2 separate regions of the Homo sapiens genome follow, and region 1 is linked to region 2. The links are contacts of gene promoters, found by promoter capture Hi-C in human tissues and cell types (Jung and others, 2019). All regions are on one chromosome and are shown on one strand. The core of a region is centred on a gene start or on the middle of the fragment in contact, and the rest is flanking DNA. Distances in the headings are between cores, read along the strand shown. Region 1 overlaps UTRN (utrophin). Region 2 holds the start of STX11 (syntaxin 11).

Region 1 (5,658 bases), core at 111-2,610, 440 kb before region 2:
CTGCTCAAAACTGTCAGGAACTTTGGAAGGCCGAGGCAGGCAGATTGCTTGAGCTCAGGAGTTTGAGACCAGCCGGCGCAACATAGTGAGGCCCTGTCTCCACAAAAAAAATACAAAAAAATTAGCCCGGTGTGGTGGCATGCACAGTAGCTGTGATCCCAGCTACTCGAGAGGCTGAGGCGGGAGGATAGCTTGAGCCCAGGAGGTCAAGGCTGCAGTGAGCCATGATAGCACCACTGTACTCCAGCCTGTGTGACAGAGACCCTGTCTCAAAAAAAGAAAAAAAAAAAGCTGTCAGCAATAAAACATCCATTATAGACTATCTCTGTTTCCTTATGTCCAAAATGAAATGGTTGAATCAGATGATTTCCAACATCTCCTCATTCTCCAGAATTCCATGTTTTAAAGGAACATGGAATGTTCTCATGCTCCAGCTCATGTTTTAAAGGAGACTGCAGGTGAAATTTCTTTAGACAAGGAAATGCATATGGAAATAATTCAGAACAAAACAATATCTATTACTTAGTTAATGTAATCTCTCTTTCTATATCTTCTATACTGAGTGACCCATTTTATCCCAATATAATTCCAAAAATTCTCTATCTAAAATTACAGGTAGAGAGACACTGGCTATTGAAGCAGAAAATCTATGTTGAACACAAGCTGCACCGCATACTAGCTGAGCAACTAACTACTGGCATGTTCCTTCACTTGCTGACTTGCAAAACAAATTTCTTTCCTATCTATCTCTTAAGGACACAAGATAATATAATATTGTTAATATTACATTTATTAATGATGTAATATATGAGAAAACACATTGTAAACTCTAAAATACTAAAAATGTAAGGAAACTGTACTAGCAGTATCAAGATATTTTCCCATCATAACAGCTAACAGTTATTCTATTGTTGTAGTCAGCCATTTTTCTCTCAATTCTGTTAAAATAAAAACAAAATAGTTGTCTATTGTGCAAACAGTTCAACATCTTCTTCCATTTGATGTTTTTCCAAAATTCTTGCTTAACTTTATGAAGCCATACTTTCACATAAGCCTATTATTTATTAAGCACTAAAAGGCACTGTCTGCTTTTATAAGTGAGCTTTGTTATAAATTAATCTTTTTAGAGTTCCACAGAACTGAACAAACTAGAAGATGAAAAATGAAAAGCAACCCTCTGATGCACTTCACATCCTTTCCAATTTCAATTATTTGGACTCATTTACCTCGCCCAGAAATGAATAAGCTTTGTGAAACTGAGAAAGCTACCAAGGCATAACATTTTCTACATTCTTTTATCTCTATGGTAGGAACTCTACTAATTACTTATTTTAGAGAACTAAAAATAAACTACCAAATATACTAAGAGAAGTTGGTAGTGATCACAGTTAAGAGTAAGAGGAAGGAGCTATGTCTGCACATTTAAAATCTAGCAGTACCTACAGCTAGGAAATTTCCACTTGAAATTTAATAAACTTTGCCTCTAGGAAAACACAAATCATCAACCCTTTAAGTTACAATTATCAAATAATACTCTACAAATAAAAGAGACCTTTTATCCGTATCCTTAATACTACTTCAACTCCATCTCAGAAGGACCTTCTATTTGTTCCGGATTTGTACTAGTATTACACTTCTAGACATACACCAATGATAATGATATCTTGGCTATAAAAGAATTTTAAAATGCTACCTTATAGAATGTATTAGTTATTCTTTAAGTGAGTGACAAAGCATTGCATCAGATCTAATTATACTGTTTTTAGCTAATTATATTGACTTTATCCAAGTCATTGATAGCATGAGTTTTCTGATTAAGAAAATGTTAGTTAATTGGATAACTTTTTAAAAACATAATTTTGACAACACATATCAACTTGGGGAACTACAGCAAAACAGAGGTCCAAGAGCTTTCTAAAATGGCACTTGTGCTCTTGGAAGCCACAGGAATCATGTCTGATAGTGGCAGGCAGGGGTGCAGGTGTTTTCTCCTTGATCCCGTCTCACTTTTGTCTGTAATCTTGACCTGACTAGGAAGTGCAGAAACAAACGCAGAGTAGAGAAAGTAGTCTGTGTGGGTATCCATACAGCTCCCAGGAAACACACCTACAGCATCCATAGAGAGGGTTAGATGGAGGCAAACCCATCTACATACGCCATTTTTCTCCATTAAACCTCAACCTTCACACAGTTTCTGTACTAATCTAACCAAGACTTTCTCATGAAGCCAAGAAGAGACAACTCATATGATCAAGTGGGAATTCTAACTTGCAGACTAGAGGGTCATGACTCTGAGCTCCATGGTTCAAACAATCTATGTATGAGTTGGTTATTGAGAGAAACTGAGGGAATCCAAGAGTTGACCTTAAAATACACACATCTCAACAATCAGATCATGTTAAAGTAAATCTCCATTGCCCTGGATCACTTCAGGATTTAATTGTCCAAGGAGAGCAGGGTTCTCCTGTGAAAAAAAGGTGGGGAAATGTTTGAGAGTAAAAAATACAAAATTCAACCGGTCGAAAATACACCACTCCATTCAGTGTCTTCTAAAAAACCACATACTCAACCTTAACTACCTCTAAATACAGGGAGCTGTACATGTAGATGAAAAATAATATGTGACCTTACTTCATCAGTGAACATAAAAACCTGCTGAGAGATTAATGTGCCTTCATGTTCATTATCTATTTACTCATTAGCACTACAAGCAACTACATAGTTCTGTGTTGTCCACGTCCACACATGAAAACACACACACACAGCCACAAAGCAAGCCTTTTGTAGACATCACTGGTCAATCGTGACTTCCCAGGTGGAATCTTCTGGTCTCTTCTATTTTTCACAGAATATTCAGAAGTAGTTGCTTTAATACCACAGAAGACACAGTATTCCGGGGAAGACTTTGAGATCAGCACCACACTGAAAGCTCAAGCCCCCTAGAAGGCCAGGCTAAGAATAGCCATAGTTTCACTCTGTATGTAAATGACTAGTCACCAAAATCGTGTTGTGTATACCACATAGAGAAAAAGAATCAACTGTGGTACAAAAAGGCAACAGTAGAAAGTAAGAACAAAATTATACACTACTAATATTTAATACATGATTTCACCATGGCATATATGTATAATTTTTAAATGAATACACATCTATATACAGCTAGATGTTTAAAAGATTTTTGCTGAAGAAATATGATCAGAATAGTTTGGGGGGTGACTAAAACCACTTAAACTAAAATGATTTACATATACATTCAAGCAAATAGAAGTTATATCACTTAAATCAACATTTTCTAAAATGCTTGAGTCACGAAGGAGTCAATTTACAGCACTAAATATTTTTAAATTTTTCTCATTTTTCTATAATGTTCATATCCCAATCTACTTTACAGGAAACTGCTTTTTACCATGCCCTCAATTGCTAAATATTTTACAGAAATTGGCACTAAGAAAAAAATAAGGAGGACTTACAAAAATCTCTTCTGATTTAACATTAACACAAATAACCCAGTTCTAATCTAAAGACTTCATGATATAAAACACCCCAAAGTAATCACGTAACAATAAAAACAAATTAAATTCAATATTATTTTTCAAATCATTTACATCAGCTTTTTTTCTACTGTGCTCTACTAAAAGAAAAATTATTTTATAGGCATGAAAATTTTAAAGAAACTAAGCAAACAAAACCATATCTGAGAAAATTAGCATCCAGTGTAGGGTGATTTTAGGTCATCAGGGCAATTTCAATGCTGCTAATTATATCTCCAAGTAAGCAGCACTTACGTTTTTGCTTCCTGCTCAAATTTTATTGGATGTATAACCGAGAAGAAATATTTTTAAAGGCAAAAAATACACGTGAATGTGTAAATAGATTGTGGGAGGGGAGTATATTTTAACTCTGAGAGCTGTGACATGCCTTTTTTCATTCCTCCCTTCTCTTTGAAACATACAAGAAAACCCACAAAATGAGAATATTCTACACAAGTATCTACTCGTGTAACACACACACTATCTTCTGACAAACAAGAGAAGTATGAAAATAAGCAGAAAAGACGAGCTGCCACAGAGGGAAAAGTCTAACAAAAGACTAAACAAATAATACATAAAAAGAATGATCCTCAAGAGGAATTTAAAAGAAGATAAAAATATTCAGACACTGAATTTCAAAATGCCAATATGAATTTTAAATAGTCAAATTTCCCTCAGATTATGCCACATTTTATTCTCATTCATTTTGGTCTCTACATGTATTTACAATAGACTGTTTCTGTATTTTTATGGAGATACACAAACTTAAAGCATTTTTTTCTAAGAAACTAAATTTAGAGAATGTGGGAGGAATAAGGAGAAAGTCAAGACAGCATTTACAATTTAATGGGAAGGGAATTTACAGTGTCTTAAAGCAAATAAATGTCAAACCCATTTAAACTTTTAGGTATGACACATGGACTATTGATAATTAAAATACAATTAAGTATTTTTGGTTGGTATAGCTACCTCTATCAATATTTGAGATGGCAACTGTTAATATTTAAGTCTACAACTAAATTTTCATTTCATTACATTAATATAGCTCAATAACTTAGATCAGTTTTCAAAATATAACCACACAAATAAAATTTATCTGTTACTAGTTTATTTATTTCATAGTAATTGTGCCGCTTCCTAATCTGGATTTCCAGTTCTTTAGGCAAAATCTCCTATGTCACTGCCTTATACTGACACCTGCTGCAATGTACTGGAATTGTACATTTCTCATTGCGTTAATCAGGCAGTTGTTAATTTTGCATATGGGAAAGAATACGTGGAAGATAGTATTTCAACAGCAAATAATGTAAATTTTAATTCTCTAAATGAAATAAGTAACATTTATTCTAAACATTTAAATTTTCATGGTATCTTTAGGAAATTATAAATCAAGAAGTCTTCCCAAAAAGCACTTCTGATGGTAATTTATCCAATGACTTCAGTGACTTAACTTGTGCCTATTTGCGGTAGAATTAGCAAACTAATTAGCAACTTTCTCCAATACTTGACTTCTGCTGTTTCATCTTTTGCACTAACTTAATACCTTCGACTTTAGAAAAATATTTGGTTTTGTGAAAGTACACACACAAACGGATCAGGAAAATGACCCTGCTCTTAAAAAAAAGAAAGCTTTATACATTCATACTGGTAGTTAAAAAAATTAAATAGCATGAATTAGTGAATGAGCTTTTCTTATCTATTATCAAAATTGCCTTTTCATGAAAAACATAAATGTTTTACCAGAATAAACTTATCCACTGAAGTAGAGCAAAACACAACACATTGAAATAACTAGGTTTACAAATCTTTGTAACTGAATTAATTAAGCTCCATTAAGTTTTAATTAACTTCTTATGCAAATAAAACTCTTGTAAGTATTTCTGAAAAGAATACCCCACTACCTGAATCTGTCTCCCAAAACTTCCGGAAAAAAAAAAAGTTTCCAGACAGCAATATATCTAATTGGCCAAATTGTAAGAAATTACAGTGTGATATAATAAAGTTAATGGAATACTGCTTCCCACCTCAATCTGCTGCCATATAAGCATCATCTAGATGCCTGGACATGCCATACTGTATATCATCAGAAAAATAATATTTTCTTAGAGGCAGTTGTTTTGATCACAAA
Region 2 (5,713 bases), core at 2,255-4,754:
GAGTCTAGGATAGTACATGGCCCTTAATAAGCACTCAATAAATTTTAGCTATTACTAGCATTCATTTGAAAAATCTTAATGAGCACTGATTATGTGCCAAGTACTGTGTGAGCTCCTCACCACCCTTTAGCCCAAACCTATTCTTCCACCGAGTAGGATATTCTTATCCTAGTCATTCATTAGAAACATGGGAGTCATCTCAACTGCTCCTACCTCCTCATTACACACACCCGACAGGGTTCCACCTATTAAACCTCTACCAGCCCCTTCCCTCTTTTCCCATCTGCATTGTCACTGCCCGATTCAGGCCTTCTTCAATGTCCCATCTGCAATATGACAACAGTTTCCACGGTGTCTTCCTAGGGTCAATGTCACTCTCATCTAATCTAAGATTTTTAAAATTCCAAGTTTTGTTATTATTTTTTAAACACATACCTGACAATATCATTCACTTGTTCAAAGGCTTCAGTACTATTAAACCCTCATGGGGCCTTTGTGATCTGGCCCTTCCTGTCTCCGTAGGCCTCCCTCTGTGCCGTCACTAAACAGGCTGGAGTTTCCTGAACGTCCAGTGCTGTTTCACTTCTCTATGGGTGCTGTTCCTTCTGCTGGGTCACCTACAGCAGACAATTCCACTTGCCTGACAATTCATCCTCCTACGTGAAGGTTCATTATTCCATCAATAAACACTTTCTAACACTTATCATGAGACAAGCCTGGGCCAAGTTCAGGGAGTACAATGCTGAATGACAAACTCGACCCTTTCTTTCTCATAGAAAAAGTAACTTTAGGGCTCTCAAAGGAGGAATAAAGTTTGGAAATTAAGGTAAAGTTGTCTGAAATTTAGCATTGTTGCCTTTACCAGTTGGATATCTTAGCAAACTGGGGAAACTTGGAAACCTTGATACTTGGGCATCCAGTTCAAAAGCATCTCAGCAGATTTCAATTGCAACAGTAAACTGTGATACGGTAGATTTATTCATTTTGGCTCACACGGCTATAATGTGATAAAAAACATTGATTTGAACTACAAAAACAATGATCATAAACTCGCTTCAATATAGTGTTACCAATGTATAAACTATTAGGCAGGGCATGGTGGCTCACATCTGCAATCCCAGCACTTTGGGAGGCCAAGGCAAGCAGATCACCTGAGGTCAGCAGTTCGAGACCAGCCTGGCCAACAGGGCCGAACCTTGTCCCTACTAAAAATACAAAAATTAGCCGGGTGTTGTGGTGGGTGTCTGTAGTCCCAGCTACTTGGGACGCTGAAGCACAAGAATTGCTTAAACGCAGGAGGTGGAGGTTGCAGTGAGCCAAGATTGCACCACCACACTCCAGCCTGGGGCAACAGAGTGAGACTCTGTCTCAAAAAACAAAACAAAACAAAACAACCTATTAATTAGTCACACCATTTCCTAAAAGTCATGCTGTTAACTAAAGGTGACTGCAATTGTCCAGGGGTGATAATCAGCTGAATTTCGTTTTACATGGTTATTAAATAACATGAAACATGGTTCATTCAAGCACTTTAAAAACCATACCTTTCAAATTCATACATTTTTAAATCATGTATCAAATGAAGAATAGGCTGCCTACAAAGACAAGTAAATGACTAAACTCAAAAGTTTCCTTGCTCTTCCAGCCATGACCCAGTCCATTCCAAATCCCAGATCTTCAGAAACATCAGTCATATTGGGACAGAAACTTTTCTCTGGGTATAGATTTACCCTAGCACCTATCTCATTATATTGAATTTTCCAGCATATTTAAATAAACTATTAATTAGTCACACTATTTCTTAAAAGTCACACTATCAACTAATCGTGACCGCAATTATCTAGGGGTGATAATCTGCTGAGTCTACTCTTTAAATACACTGGGACCCAGCATATTGAGTTATATTGGCACAGAAACTTCACTCTGGGTATAGATTTACCCTAGTACCTTGCCGGCAGGATCCTATTATTCATGGTTGTACAAGCAAGGTTCAGGGAAGAGGCTGGCACAGAGAAGGTACCTGGTAACTGTTGTTTGAGGCTGAATTCAGCTCAACTCAGCTCCAGTAGAGATGGTGTCCCCTTCTCTACCGTGTTGAGATAGTGTGCAGTCCCTTCCTAAGGGCTGTTACCCACCGCAATAGGACTTGTCAGCTTCAACTTTTAAATTTCTCTGCTCCCGCTGGGACCCACCCGCTTCAAAAATCATCATGTGGTTTTAGCACCAATTTAGTAAACACAAACTGTCTGAAATATTTTGATTTTAGAGAGTTACTTACAATCACCACATTAAATGATACCTTTCTCCCATGCAGTGAAAATGACAGCAAAATGGTCATTGAATAATGAAATTAATTTTCTCTTGGGCATCTGTGGCAAAGCACATGATTTCAATGGTTATCTTAGATCAGCCCAGTGACCTTTACTGGCATGTTGTAACATCAGGCGCCTTAGGAAACTGAAAACTCAATCGTCACTTCCCATACCACTGCCCCAGGTTGGCAGGGCAGGCATTTCACATCTAGAGTCTCATTTTAAAGCAAGCCTCGCTTTTCAAAAGTTCATTAACAAAGTCTCACAATTAAGAGAGCAGCCCTGTGACTCATTTTTGGATACCTGTAAATAACAGCTCCTCCCTCTGCTGAGAAACGGCTGAAACAAGTGCGTGAGAACCACAGGAAGTAATACAGATCTCAGCTGGTGTCAGCGGAGTCTAGAAAAAGGCAGAATTCCCTCTCAGGACGGCGTGGCTCTCGCAGGCATTGCCACTACTTCTCTCCATGTTTCTAAAACAAAGTCTTACGTGGGCTTCGAAGGGACTCCTCGAAGGCTCTATCAATTTCTCCGTCTTTCCTGGCTACTGAGTGACACCGCCAAGTTCAAGTCAAGAAGTACCCATTCTGGTGTTTTTGACACAGTCACCCTACTAGGAAGTGAAGAGGTGATAATAAAAAAACACTCCAGCCTTTCGATTTAAAATAAAAGTAGTCTTGGGTGGACACTTTATAAAGGCAGCCTACCAACAGGTATCCCTAAAATAATTCTTACGAAGCACTAAATCCTAAGTCCCTCAGCCTCTGAAATTAAAAGTAATTTTAAAAAATCATTCTGCTTTATATGAGAAACCCAATGCTGTGTTTCCGAAGGTGCCCAGAGGCGGCGTGAGGACCTGCGCCAGATCCAAAATCCCACCTAAGGCACAGCCGCGGGTCCCGAGCCTAGACAGTGCCCCCGCCCCGACCCGCCCTCCCCGATCTCTCCGCGCACGGGGAAAATAGTCAGGAAGAGAAATGGGGGCTCAGGAAGAGAAAAACAAACCTGGACTGGGAGCGAGAGTGCGAACCGAGAAGCCCCTCTCCCGGCAGGGCGCGCGTCCCCTGTGGGCGCAGCGATGGAGAAGGAAACCTGTTGCGCGACTCCCGGCGGCTCCGCTCCCGGCGCCTCCTGCGGCCGAGGCTGAGTTCCTCCACGGCCGCCCGAGCTCCGCGCCGCCGCGGCCGCATCTGGGCGCCGCCGGCTCAGCCCCCGCCGCTTAGGAAGCGACCACAGCTGGGGACCAGGCCCCGCCCCGGGATGACAGCGCTGGGGCGCGGCGGCAGCCGGCTCACAGAGCGCGGGTTCCCGCCCCACCCAGAGTCCATGCGCTCGGGACCGCCCGGAGCCGGGGACGCGCTCCAGCCCCTCCCGCAAGCCCAGGGGCGTTCCCGCGGGCTGCGCGGACCGGCGCGGGGAGTGGGATGTTTGCCGCCCAAGACACTTCCTCCGCTCGTCCTCTGGTCCCCAGGGCAGGGAGCGCGCTGGACTTCCCCCGGGAATCCCCGCTGCGCTGGTGACATTTGCAGTCCGGTGCGTTGCCGCGGCGAGGACGCTGGAAGCCGTCTCTGAGCGTGGGTGTGGCTGCGGAAGCTGCGGCAGGTCCTGCATCCCTGGGACCCTCGAGGACGCGGGCGAGGAGCCTGCGGTCACACGGAGGCCGAGCACCGCCTTCCCAGAACCCTGCCGACCAACCTCTCTCCAGTCGGCCTCAACACCCGCCGGGCTCATCATTCTCTGGATATCAACTGAGCGTCCCCTTGTGTGCCCACCGCGCTCAAAAATACTGCCAAGACCCACCCTCCAGGTCCCGGCACTTTAACGGGGAGGGATAAATAGAAAGTGTGGATTGTGCCAGGTGGTGGTAAAGCACCTTGAAAAACAAGGCTGAGGCTGAAAAGTAAGGAAGTGATACTCAAAAAAGGAAAAATCGGGCCGGGCGCGGTGGCTCACGCGCGTATTCCTAACACTTTGGGAGGCCGAAGGGGGAGGATCTCTTGAGCCCAGGAGTTTGAGACCAGCCTGAGCGATGTGGTGAAAGCCTATCTCTACAAAAAATAAAAAAATTAACTGGGCGTGGTGGCGCACGCTGTGATCCCAGCTGCTCGGGAGGCTAAGGTGGGAGGATCACTTGAGGCTGAGAGGTCAAGGATGCAGTGAGCCGAGATCGCGCCACTGTACTCCAGCCTGGGCGACAGAATGAGACGCTGTCTCAATTGAATGAGAAGAAAAAAAATAAAACTAAAGAACGAATCCTGCCTTGATGGCAGAATGTTTAGACACAGGAACCACCTGAAAGCTCCCAGTTGCCAAAGATGGAACCATTTGAGCAACGAAGTAAACTAAACAAGGTAGTATTGGATTACAAGCCAAAGTAAAAAAATCCATGAGTCTACACTGATATAAATAAATAATTGAATAAATAAATAAAAGGCGGAGAGGAGACAAATCTCCTATACAGAATAATTCCAAATAATTTATGTAGATCATGTACCCTAGGCTGTGCACAGTGACTTCCTCCAAAATAGTACAATGTGGAAAGGGAAAAACAGTAGGTTTACAATGGAGAAAGCCGACAGACACTACCCCAGCCAGATGTTCTAAGCCAACGTCAACAATCGTGACTCATTGATGGCATGTAGTCAATATGATGTGATGAATGTGGCATATTACATGTGTGGTCTCCCTCCTGGAAAACCATAACCTCAGTCTCATAATGAGAAAAATATCAAACAAATTCCAGTAGTGGAACATCCTACAAAATACCTGACCAATATTCCTCAAAGTTGTCAGGTTATCAAAAGTAAGGAAAGTACAGTCCAGACGTGGCTCACGCCTGTAATCCGTACACTTTGAGAGGCTGAAGCGAGAGGATTGCTTGAGGCCAGGAGTTCGAGGCCTGATCTGGCCGACATAGCCAGATGCTGTCTCTACAAAAAATAAAATAAAATAAGGAAAGTCTGAAAAACTGCCGCAGCCTAGAAGAAACTCAGGAGACGTGAAAACTAAATGTAATGTGGTATCCTGGATGGGATCCTGGGACAGAAAAAGGACTTGGGGAAAAACTAAGGAAATCTAAATAAAGCATGGACTTTCATTAGTAATAAGAATCAAGGTTGATTAATTAGTTGTGAGGAATGTAATGTAAGATGGTAATCATAGGGAAATCTGAAATGGAATTTATGGAAATTCTGTACTACCTTTGCAGTTGTTCTGTAAATCTAAAACGGTTCTAAAAAATACAGTTTATTTTAAAAGAAAGTAAAATAAGAGGGATGAGGTATGTTATATTTTTAAAAATGGGTATATTGCAAAGCCATCTAAGATAAGAGAATCATTGAGGGAGGAAACAATGCAGCTATTGGGATTAAGATCATTTCAAGCCTAGGAATCAGTGGATG

What was found. The method cuts DNA at HindIII sites, captures the fragments that hold promoters and counts their contacts. A contact is called where the count stands out against the background at its distance.
Region 1: a fragment that was not itself captured here is called in contact with the fragment with the promoter of STX11 in region 2 in 1 of the 25 tissues and cell types used here (heart left ventricle).

What each region holds. Positions count from the first base shown.
Region 1 is chr6:144,584,487-144,590,144 of GRCh38, reverse strand. All of the region lies in intron 51 of UTRN (utrophin), which reads right to left. Among named protein-coding and RNA genes, the nearest start is that of SNORA98, 180 kb to the right of the region's middle. The HindIII fragment of the contact is 3,686 bases long and covers 1-3,203 here.
Region 2 is chr6:144,148,308-144,154,020 of GRCh38, reverse strand. It overlaps STX11 (syntaxin 11), which reads right to left and starts at 3,504. Exons shown (of 2, transcript NM_003764.4): 1 at 3,318-3,504. RefSeq lists a silencer at 3,378-3,817. The HindIII fragment of the contact is 13,668 bases long and covers 1-5,713 here.